3 separate regions of the Homo sapiens genome follow, and all the other regions are linked to region 3. Evidence: promoter capture Hi-C in 16 types of primary human blood cells and fetal thymus (Javierre and others, 2016). All regions are on one chromosome and are shown on one strand. Each heading gives the region's core, a stretch centred on a gene start or on the middle of the fragment in contact. The rest is flanking DNA. Distances are from core to core; before and after follow the strand shown.

Region 1 (3,024 bases), core at 414-2,913, 1.9 Mb after region 3:
GAAGGCACCTGGCAGGGGTCCAAGAAAGACGGTCCCCAAGTCTCCCATGGCCCCCATGGGAGCACGGGAGGATGTGAGGCCGGGAAATTAGTCAGGGACTGCTAGCAAGATGCAGAGAAAATGCCCTCCACAGAGAACCAGGCACCTCTGGGATAACCAGCATGGAGGGTGGGGGATGGCACATGACAATGTCCCTCCAGGAGACATCTGTGTTGGAGGGGGAACTGGAGCCTCCCCAGGGCCATAAGTTTATACCACCCCCTAGAGCATACCTGCCACGCCAGGTGAGCAAAGGAATGCTCAGAATTGAGCTTAAATGACCAAGTTCATCTGGAATTGGCCAAGATGACATTTTCCATCATCAGTCTGAAAAGGGGCTGGAAATAACGATTAGGTTGGGTCACAGAAAAACACAGTCCTAGCCGGGTACAGTGGCTCATACCTGTAATCCCAGCACTTTGGGAGGCTAAGGTAGGAGGATCCTTTGAGCTCAGGAGTTCAAGACCAGCCTGAGCAATATGGCAAAACCCCGTCTCTACAAAAAATATAAAAAATTAATGAGTCAGGTGTGGTGTCAAGCACCTCTGGTCCCAGCTACTCAAGAGGCTGAGGTGAGAGGACCGCTTGCGCCCTGGAGGTTGAGGCTGCAATGAGCTGTGATCCCACCACTGCACTCCAGCCTGGGCAACAAAGCGAGACCCTGTCTCAAATAAAAGAAAAAAGGGCCAGGCGTGGTGGCTCACACCTGTAATCCCAGCACTTTGGGAGGCCAAGGCATGTGGTTCACTTGAGATCAGCAGTTCAAGACCAGCCTTACCAACATGGTGAAACCTTATCTCTACTAAAAATACAAAAATTAGCTGAGCGTGGTGGTGGGCACCTGTTATCTCCAGCCTGGGCGACAGAGAGACTTGGTTTCAAAAAAAAAAAGAAAGAAAAAAAAAAGGAAAAAAACACAGCCCTGGTTTTGCTTCACTCAAGTACATGGAATAAGAAACGCTTGCCTGCTGGCCAAGTGACCCTCCCACAGCGGTCAGGAAGCTTCTAGAACCCGGTTATGTTGGCTGAAAGCAGAAATGGCCAAGTCAACCTCAGTGTGATATTGAGGGGGCTCCTGGGGCTGGAAGCATGCACCCCAAACTTAGACCCCGGCAAAAGGAGTGGGGAAGATGCCGGTGCCATGAGGGCAGGAAGCTGAGTTTGTTGCTAGGGGCCTGGGAGTGTTCCCGGAGGACGGGAGCCCTGTGAGGGGCATCTGGCGGCTGACACTGATGAATGGCTGTGCCGGGCCAGCCTTACCTGGGCAGCCAAGGCCAAAGCTTGGGGGCAGGAGGAGTGGCAGTGACACGGCTGCAGCTGGATGGAATCCGGGGCCTGAACCCCAGCATCCCCTCCCTGACACCCTACAGCTACCCATAGCCGGGGAGGTGGGGAGGTGCCGGCCCTCGGCCCACAATGCTGATCACATCTGTCTGGTTCTGAGGAGGAAATCCAGGACCTAATGAGAACAAATGGCAGCCTGGATAACTCATCTGTGGTCACAGATGAGATTTCCCCACCCGCTGCACCCCTAATTCAGCAGAGGCCATCTATGGGTTTCCTTGTGTGGCATGAGCGACACCTGGTGGTCACAGATGGGAATTTCGAGTCATGTTCTTCAGGCTGCTTGGGACACCCCACCTGGACCCCATCCCACTCTGGGCAAAGGCAAGACCACCACTGAGCTCAGGGTGCACCTGAGACTTGGCCGCAGCAAGGAGATGTAGATACAAGGATCACGTCAGAAGACGTTTCATTCATTCATTCACGTTCCCAAGCATTTAGTGAGCGCATACCAGGTATCAGGAAGAGATGAACAAAATGGTTTTATGAAGTTTGCATCCTAATGAGGAAAGCAGATAACAAGCATGTAAATATCAGATAATTCCTTACTGTTAAGTGCTGTGAGAATTCACAAGGTTCAGAAATTGAGTCAAAAATCTTTCTCAGTACCCTCAATAAGCTTCATCTCAGGCCGGGCGCAGTGGCTCACGCCTGTAATCCCAACACTTCAGGAGGCCGAGGCGGGGTGATAACTTGAGGTCAGGAGTTTGAGACCAGCCTGGCCGACAGTGAAACCCCGTCTCTACCAAAAAATAGAAAAATTAGCCAAGCGTGGTGGCACATGCCTGTAGTCACAACTACTCGGGAGGCTGAGGTGGGAGAATCATTTGAACCTAGGAGGCAGAGGTTGTAGTGAGCTGAGATCTTGCCACTGCACTCCAGCCTGGGCAACAGAGAGAGACTCTATCAAAAAAAAAAAAAGTGTAAGCCTCATCTTAGCTGAATCCCTGGACACTTACCTTGCCACAGGTCCCAGGCCCCAACCTCAGGAACTTTATATGGACTCTTGCGAAAGTGAGGCAGTGGAGTGACTGGGCAACGGATGTGGAATCAGGAAGACCTTGGGTTCCAATCCTGACTCTGCCACCTCCTAATTTTGTGGCCTTGGGCACATTACCTACCTTGTCTCAGCCTGTTTCCTCAACAGAGAAAAATGGGAATTACAACAGGACCTTATTACAGGACCTACCTCCTAGTTACAAAACTTAATGCCATAACTTACGGTCAGAAAAGTGCTTGGAGCATCTCCAGACCCAGAGAACCACTTGCAGTAAATATTAGCTGCTATTGTTATTGATATTACTATTGTGCCGACACTCCAGACCTTCTCCTCCTCCTCCTCTTCCTCCTCTTCCCCTCCCAACCCCAGAAGCCAGGAGAAAGAGGAAGGACCGCAGCCAGTCCCCCCGACCTCTCCCCTCCTTCTCCAGGGCTCTCCGGCCAAGGCTAAGCCAGCCCTTCAGTGGGGGACAAGATGAGTGCGAAATTGCATGTGAGATGGCAGTTTCAGACTCAACCAGACTGGCCTTTCTATTGCCCAGAATTACCCAAGCTGAGGCTAAGGGACAGGAAGCAGAGATTGGAAAGGGCAGGGCTGACGGGAGTGAGTCACTGGTGGGGAGAAAATGAACCACTTCCTGT
Region 2 (2,969 bases), core at 114-2,613, 2.0 Mb after region 3:
GATTCCGAGACTTATCCTGACCCCTGGAAGAACAGGAGAGGAAGAAGTTGGTCTGCCCATGGCCATGGCTGGCGGGTGGGGGTTGGGGAGATGATTCCAGGAGTTTCCAGCCTGCTGGCTTGTGAGTTTTGAAATGGAGCCCTGGATTTTCACTTTCCAGTTCAGGAGATCTGGGGAAATCTGGATTGGTTTGGAGTTGTTTTTTTGTTTGTTTGTTTTGTTTTGTTTTGTTTTGGACTTTTAGGAAAACCTTTTCAAGGCAGCTGAAAAAAGCTAATGATGATAATTTGCTTCTCCTATGCCATTCCTAAACCCAGAGTTTTCTCTGCAGTTCCATCTCCTCTTGAGAAGCTTAGCTTGGATTTCCCACTGTCCAACTGAACTAAATTTGTTGAAAACCTACCTAAATGTCACCCCTTCTAAGCCATCCCCTCCTGTGGACCTGACTTGGGAGAACTGGTGGGTATTGTGCTTACACAACAGGGCCCTCACTGCTCTCCGTGCTCTGCAGGTTTGGTGAATTCCTGGTTTTGGATCTCTCCATCTTTTATTGAGAGCACTTGGGGTGAGAGCACTTAGGGGGCTCCTGATCACTCTCCTGCTTTAGCTGCTCCTTCCCTGCCTCCTGTCCCACCTGCCACGGGACCTGCAGGCAGCCTCAGACCTTGCCATTCTCCTTTTCCAAAGCCCTCGATCGTCCCCTTTCTCACACAGACTTCTTAGCTCTCCACAGCCTGTCTGTGAGCGAGGCCTCACCAGCGGTGGCGATTCTGGCTGTCCTCCGACGGTCCTGTCCTTCCAGTTATGGGGCTGGCCTCTGTACTCTGCATCTGAGACTGTCGCTTATCTGCTCGTGCTCTGTCTTGCTGCTACGCTTGTTTTGAAAGTTCTCCCATAGCAGGAGCCAAGTTTACCGCCTTTTGGGTTTTCCCCATTCGTTACCCACCACTTTTCATTGCCTGAGGTGAGCCCTCGGTATAGTCACTGGCAGAGCCAAGAGGGGGCTTTCTTAGAGAAATAATAGGCCTGATCCCGTACGGCAGTGCATTTGTTGCGGAAGGCAAATCCGCGGAGTTATGGTGGGGCCAGGGCTGCGCTGTGAAATGGCAGAGGCTCTGATGGCTGGTTTGACGGCTTACTGCCTCCCTTCGTCAGTTTCTCGCTGACCTTTACACTAAAAGGTATCTTGCACTTCAGTTTTCGAGAGGAACTAAGAGGCGCTGTCTTTGTTTGCTGGATTCATCAATGTAAAGAAATGCATCCTGTTTACACTTCTGGCAGCGTTTCTTTTATTTGGATGGTGGCCAAAGGCAAACAACTCAGCCGAGTGGGTTTTTAAAAAACAGAGCTTTCCAAGTCCACATGCTGTTGCCCGAGTGAACATCCAGAATCTTCAGTTTGTCTTAATGGAACTGTTTCATCTTGTAGAAAAAGGCTCATATTATCTTAAAGCATTTTATGTCTATCGTAGCTTTGGTATTTATTGTGGGAAGATTTTACTAAGGAATGACTAATCTTAAAAGATTTGGTTTGATTAGGGGCTAAACTAACATAATCTATTTTGAAATGAGATAACAGGATTTGCAGTTTTTGGTCTTCATCCAGCAAAATTGAACCCCACCCCCCACCCCCCCAAAAAAAATCTACATCCCCAGCAGAGAGGGAATCTATACTTTGACTAGAAGTTTAAGTTGCTGGATTTATAAGTTGTCTTAAAAATATGCTGTCTGAACAGTTTGAAGTGTGACATTGTATTGAGATGAAGTCATCAAACTGCTTGAGACTTTAACCGTTTATATTTGGGTAACCAAATAAAATGTATGGTTATTCAAACAATTAATACTTCAGTAATACCATTACTGAAAAAAGGATTTTTCTCTTAGCTATTAAAGAGACTTGAATGAGTTGTCGTTCTTATTTATTTTAAGTGTATGTGAGTTTTAGGATTTTCTTGGCTTTTGTGTTTTAGAAAATTGGTCTTTCATTGGAAAAGGACAGGAGTAAGAGGTTTATTATAATATGCCTCCTATACTAGTATTTTACTTTTAAGACTTTAGCAATTCTATATAACAATGGTAAAAGTGTAACTATCAGTTCTGCAAAAGTACGGTAAATACATTATTGTTACAGGCTTTAAACTCCAGAGAGAGCTTACGTCTCTCTCTAAAAAGGAAGAAAAGGGGACTCAGAATTTAGCCAAATGTCCCCAAGTAGAAAACTTCGCTGGAACTCAGATGTGGATTTTCAGAACAAAGTTGGCAGAGAGCAGTTTTTGACTAGAATAAATGTAAAAGGGCAAAAGAGAGACATCTTTTTTTTTTAATGCCTTTTTTCCTTCAAAGGAAGGGAAAATGGACTGTAACTACAAAGCTTACAAAACTACTACTTAACTGTTCAAAGCTCATCAGTAGTTTAGCCACCTTTCTTGTGTTTTGAAAAAGGGAAAGGAGGAGTCTTTTCTTGTGGTTGGGTGCAGTTCATTTGGACCAGCTCCAGCCTGCTTGGGCGGATTGTGCGGTGGGAATAGACTGCTGTTGCATGGGCCAGTTTTGCGTGTGTGTGTTTTTAAGCCAAACCTATGTTCACCCTGATAGTTGGGGAAGGCCTGGTGTGTGCAGTCCTGCAGTCTTCGTAAGTGACCTTTGGCCTTCCAAGTCCTACCTGGCCCCCTGACTTCGTCTTTGACATAAAAATGAAACTTCCTAGGGGTTATTGATTTAACTTCTGAGTGAGATTGTACTCCTTGTGAAGCTAAACTTTTCATTTGTAAAAATAGCACCTGAATAGATACCTGGTGGGTCGGACCCAATTTCTGTATTTGAGTTGGACGAGCAGGGCCTTCCCGGATAGCGGGAGGGTTGGTGACTTGATTGGGAGGGCATGGAGGCTGAAACCCCATCCAAGCCACTGTTGCCAGGCTGGGCCGCATCTGCCTGGATGATGGAGAGCGTTTTTCTGATTTGTACAAA
Region 3 (2,930 bases), core at 63-2,562:
TGCTTGTTTGTTTTGACATGGAGTCTCGTTCTGTCACCCAGACTGGAGTCCAGTGGTGCGATCTTGGCTCACTGCACCCTCGGCCTCCTGGGTTCATGCACTTCTCCTGCTTCGGCCTCTCACCTCACCAAGTTTGTTTACGTTTACCAAGGGGCTGTAGTGCTGGCTGTATTTTCTTTACTTTTTTTCTTTTTTCTTTTGAGACGGAGTTTCGCTCTGTCCCCCAGCCTGGAGTGCAGTGGCGCCATCTCAGCTCACTGTAACCTCCACCTCACAGGTTCAAGCAATCCTCCTGCCTCAGCCTCCCGAGTAGCTGGGATTACAGTCACCCACCACCACGCCCGGCTAATTTTTTTTTTTTTTTTTTTTTTTGTATTTTCAGTAGAGACGTGGTTTCCTCATGTTGGGCACGCTGGTCTCGAACTCCTGACCTCAGGTGATCCGCCTGCCTTGGCCTCCCAAAGTGGTGGGATTACAGGCGTGAGCCACCACGCCCGGTCAGCATTTTCTTCTTTTAAACATGTAGTATGAAGTCTTTGCCTGTTTGGTGGACCGTGAGTCTGTTCAGTCCTGGCTTACACTGTTTTCCCCCATGACTGGTTAGTTGGTGAGGAAGGAGCTACTCACTCGTTACTGGGAGTCCAGACACAGCCTGAAACCAGCCTGGAGGGTGATTTCTCAGCCTAGCTAATACATCCGCGCAAGAGAGATCTTTTTAAGTCACAAAACCCTCCCACGGTTCCGCAAAGCCCTCGGATGGCCTCCAGCTCCCCAGCCTGGCACACAGCCTTATTCCTTAGCAGGCCTCCGGACACTGTGACTTTGCGTTCTTGACTGTGAGGCACTGAAATCTCCCGGCTGCCCGATTTCCTGCCAGACGCGGAGTTCTCACCGCCAAGCCTTTGACTAAACTGTCGACTGGGTCCCACCCCACTTGCTTTCACTCACCAAGACTCTGCTCAAGTGTCACCTCCTCCGGGGACCCACCATGACCCTCCCCGACCTCCTCACCCCAAGCCTGGCCGCCGTGTTGCCTTACCCGATCCCCAAGTCTCGAGGGCGAGTCCAGTCGGGTTCCTGCAAGGCTGGCGCCCAAGCCCCTGCCCTGTGAGACCCACCCCCGTGTGCCCCTAGGGAGAGATGCAGGAAGGAGGGCCGGGGCCGCAGCTCCCCCGTACCTGGCCTGGTGGAGCAAACTCTCCGCTCCTGCCGAGAACATCACGCCGCCGCCACCAGACGCGCACGAACCTCGGAAACTCCAGGAGCTGCAGCCCAGGAGCTCCGCACCCCGGTCAACTTCCGGGACCGCGTCACGTGAGCGCAGCGGCCTTACGTGGCTGCGTCACGTGCCGCATCACATGAGCAGGAGGGACAGGTTGCCGACCAATGGGCTTTGGCGTGGAGCGACTGGGGCGGGGCGTAGGTGCCGCGGCCGGGGGTCCGGGTCGGCGCCTGGGAGCTGCGGAATCGCGCGACCCCGGAACCTCGGCACTCTGGAGCCCCGGCGCCCTTCGACCCCGGAAAGCATTTCGGCGGAAATTGGGCGCCTGGGGCTTTGGGAGAGGGCATTGCTGGCCCCAAAGTGTCACTGCCCCAGTTCTGGTTTCTGTTTCGTAAACAGCTTTGTCGTGCGGGAGTCCCTTTGCTAAGTACGACCTGAAAATCTGATGCAAACTCCGACACTTGTGGGCTGAGCCCAGCAGTGTCCAGCAGTTTGCAAGGAATAGCCGCGGCTCTGGGCAGTTTTGGGGATTTTTTGAGCTCCCATTTATTGAGCACCCATCCCGCGCTGTTCCTGCTGCTTGAAACGAAAAAATCCCTTATTCAATCCCCACGGTATTCATGGGATCTCGCGATCTCTGTTTTACAGATGAGGCCACAGGCTCGGAGAGGGGAAGTTTCTGTTCATTCTAACGGATGTGTTGGGTGCCCAAATGTGCTGGGCCCTGGCCATAAGTTTGCCATCCTGCAGACGGCCGAGGGACACAGGGCGACACGCCAGCGTCATGATAAACGCTATGACAGCCTGACCTGGTTGGGGGTCCAACCGGAGGAGGAAGGCTTCGGCGACTGCGGCCTAAGATGAGCCCAGAGGGTGTCCAGACCAAGGGGTGGGGAGGGACGGGCCTAGGGTAGCGATCTGCTTCCTATGGCTTAAATGCACCCCAGGAGGAAACTGATCTCTGGCCGCAGGGGAGATAATGGATTGGGAAGCTCCTGAGGGAGAAAGGAGGCTGGTGCAGTTGTGGTCCAGGTAAGGGAGGTTGCCCCGAAAGTAGGCAGATTCAGTACCATTTAGAGGTAGGATTTGCACCACCTGTGATTGAGGAATTTGCAGGCAGGAGGAAGAAAGTGGAAAAATCAAGGGTAACTTCATGTTTGTGGGGTGTCTGTCTGGGGCAGAAAAGGACGAGGAAATTTGTGCCAAGAGTCATTCATTAAGTGGACAAGCGATGATTGAGTCCTAGCTGCGCTAGGCACTGCTGAAGGTTCTGGGGAATAGGGTAGGGGTGGGAATCAATGTTGCGTAGATAGGGTGGGTCAAGGTTAGGCCTTGAAGGGATAAGCCCCGAGAAGACCCCTGGATGGAAGGAAGGAGGAGGAGGAGGGAGGGCTTCCTGCAGGAGTTCCAAACATGGCTTTGAGATGCCCTAGGGCGCCCAGTGATGTCTGAGGGCACCTGGTGCAGAGAATGAAGAGATGGGAATCGGTGGATGGTGAGCGGTGGATGGGAGTCGGTGGAGTGCGGCGGGTGCCCCTGGAGCCGCAGGTTGAAGACTGGCAAAGGAAAGCTGGTGACAGGTAGTCTATGGAAAGCCTACTGCCAGTGTTTAACGTTTACTAGGGTAAAACGTCCACACCAAAGCGCACAAATCTTAAATGAACTCCACTATTTACATTTCTAGAAATCGGTGGTAAATTTGCAAATG

Evidence for each region. Contacts are between HindIII fragments. The CHiCAGO score rates a contact against its expected background, and 5 or more counts as called.
Region 1: a fragment that was not itself captured here is called in contact with the fragment with the promoter of AP5Z1 in region 3 in 1 of 17 cell types (erythroblasts); the score reaches 5.5 in erythroblasts.
Region 2: a fragment that was not itself captured here is called in contact with the fragment with the promoter of AP5Z1 in region 3 in 2 of 17 cell types (M0 macrophages and M2 macrophages); the score reaches 5.6 in M0 macrophages.

The regions. Positions count from the first base shown.
Region 1 is chr7:2,863,803-2,866,826 of GRCh38, reverse strand. No RefSeq gene overlaps it. Among named protein-coding and RNA genes, the nearest start is that of GNA12, 21 kb to the right of the region's middle. RefSeq lists a silencer at 2,132-2,211 and an enhancer at 2,989-3,024. The HindIII fragment of the contact is 683 bases long and covers 1,322-2,004 here.
Region 2 is chr7:2,801,059-2,804,027 of GRCh38, reverse strand. The region is part of intron 1 of GNA12 (G protein subunit alpha 12); the gene reads left to right. Among named protein-coding and RNA genes, the nearest start is that of GNA12, 42 kb to the left of the region's middle. The HindIII fragment of the contact is 2,019 bases long and covers 354-2,372 here.
Region 3 is chr7:4,774,005-4,776,934 of GRCh38, reverse strand. AP5Z1 (adaptor related protein complex 5 subunit zeta 1) reads right to left here and starts at 1,312. Exons shown (of 17, transcript NM_014855.3): 1 at 1,179-1,312. The coding sequence starts at 1,219. RefSeq lists enhancers at 634-743, 764-823, 1,164-1,233, 1,664-1,753, 1,794-1,843 and 2 more and a silencer at 1,354-1,483. The HindIII fragment of the contact is 11,700 bases long and covers 1-2,930 here.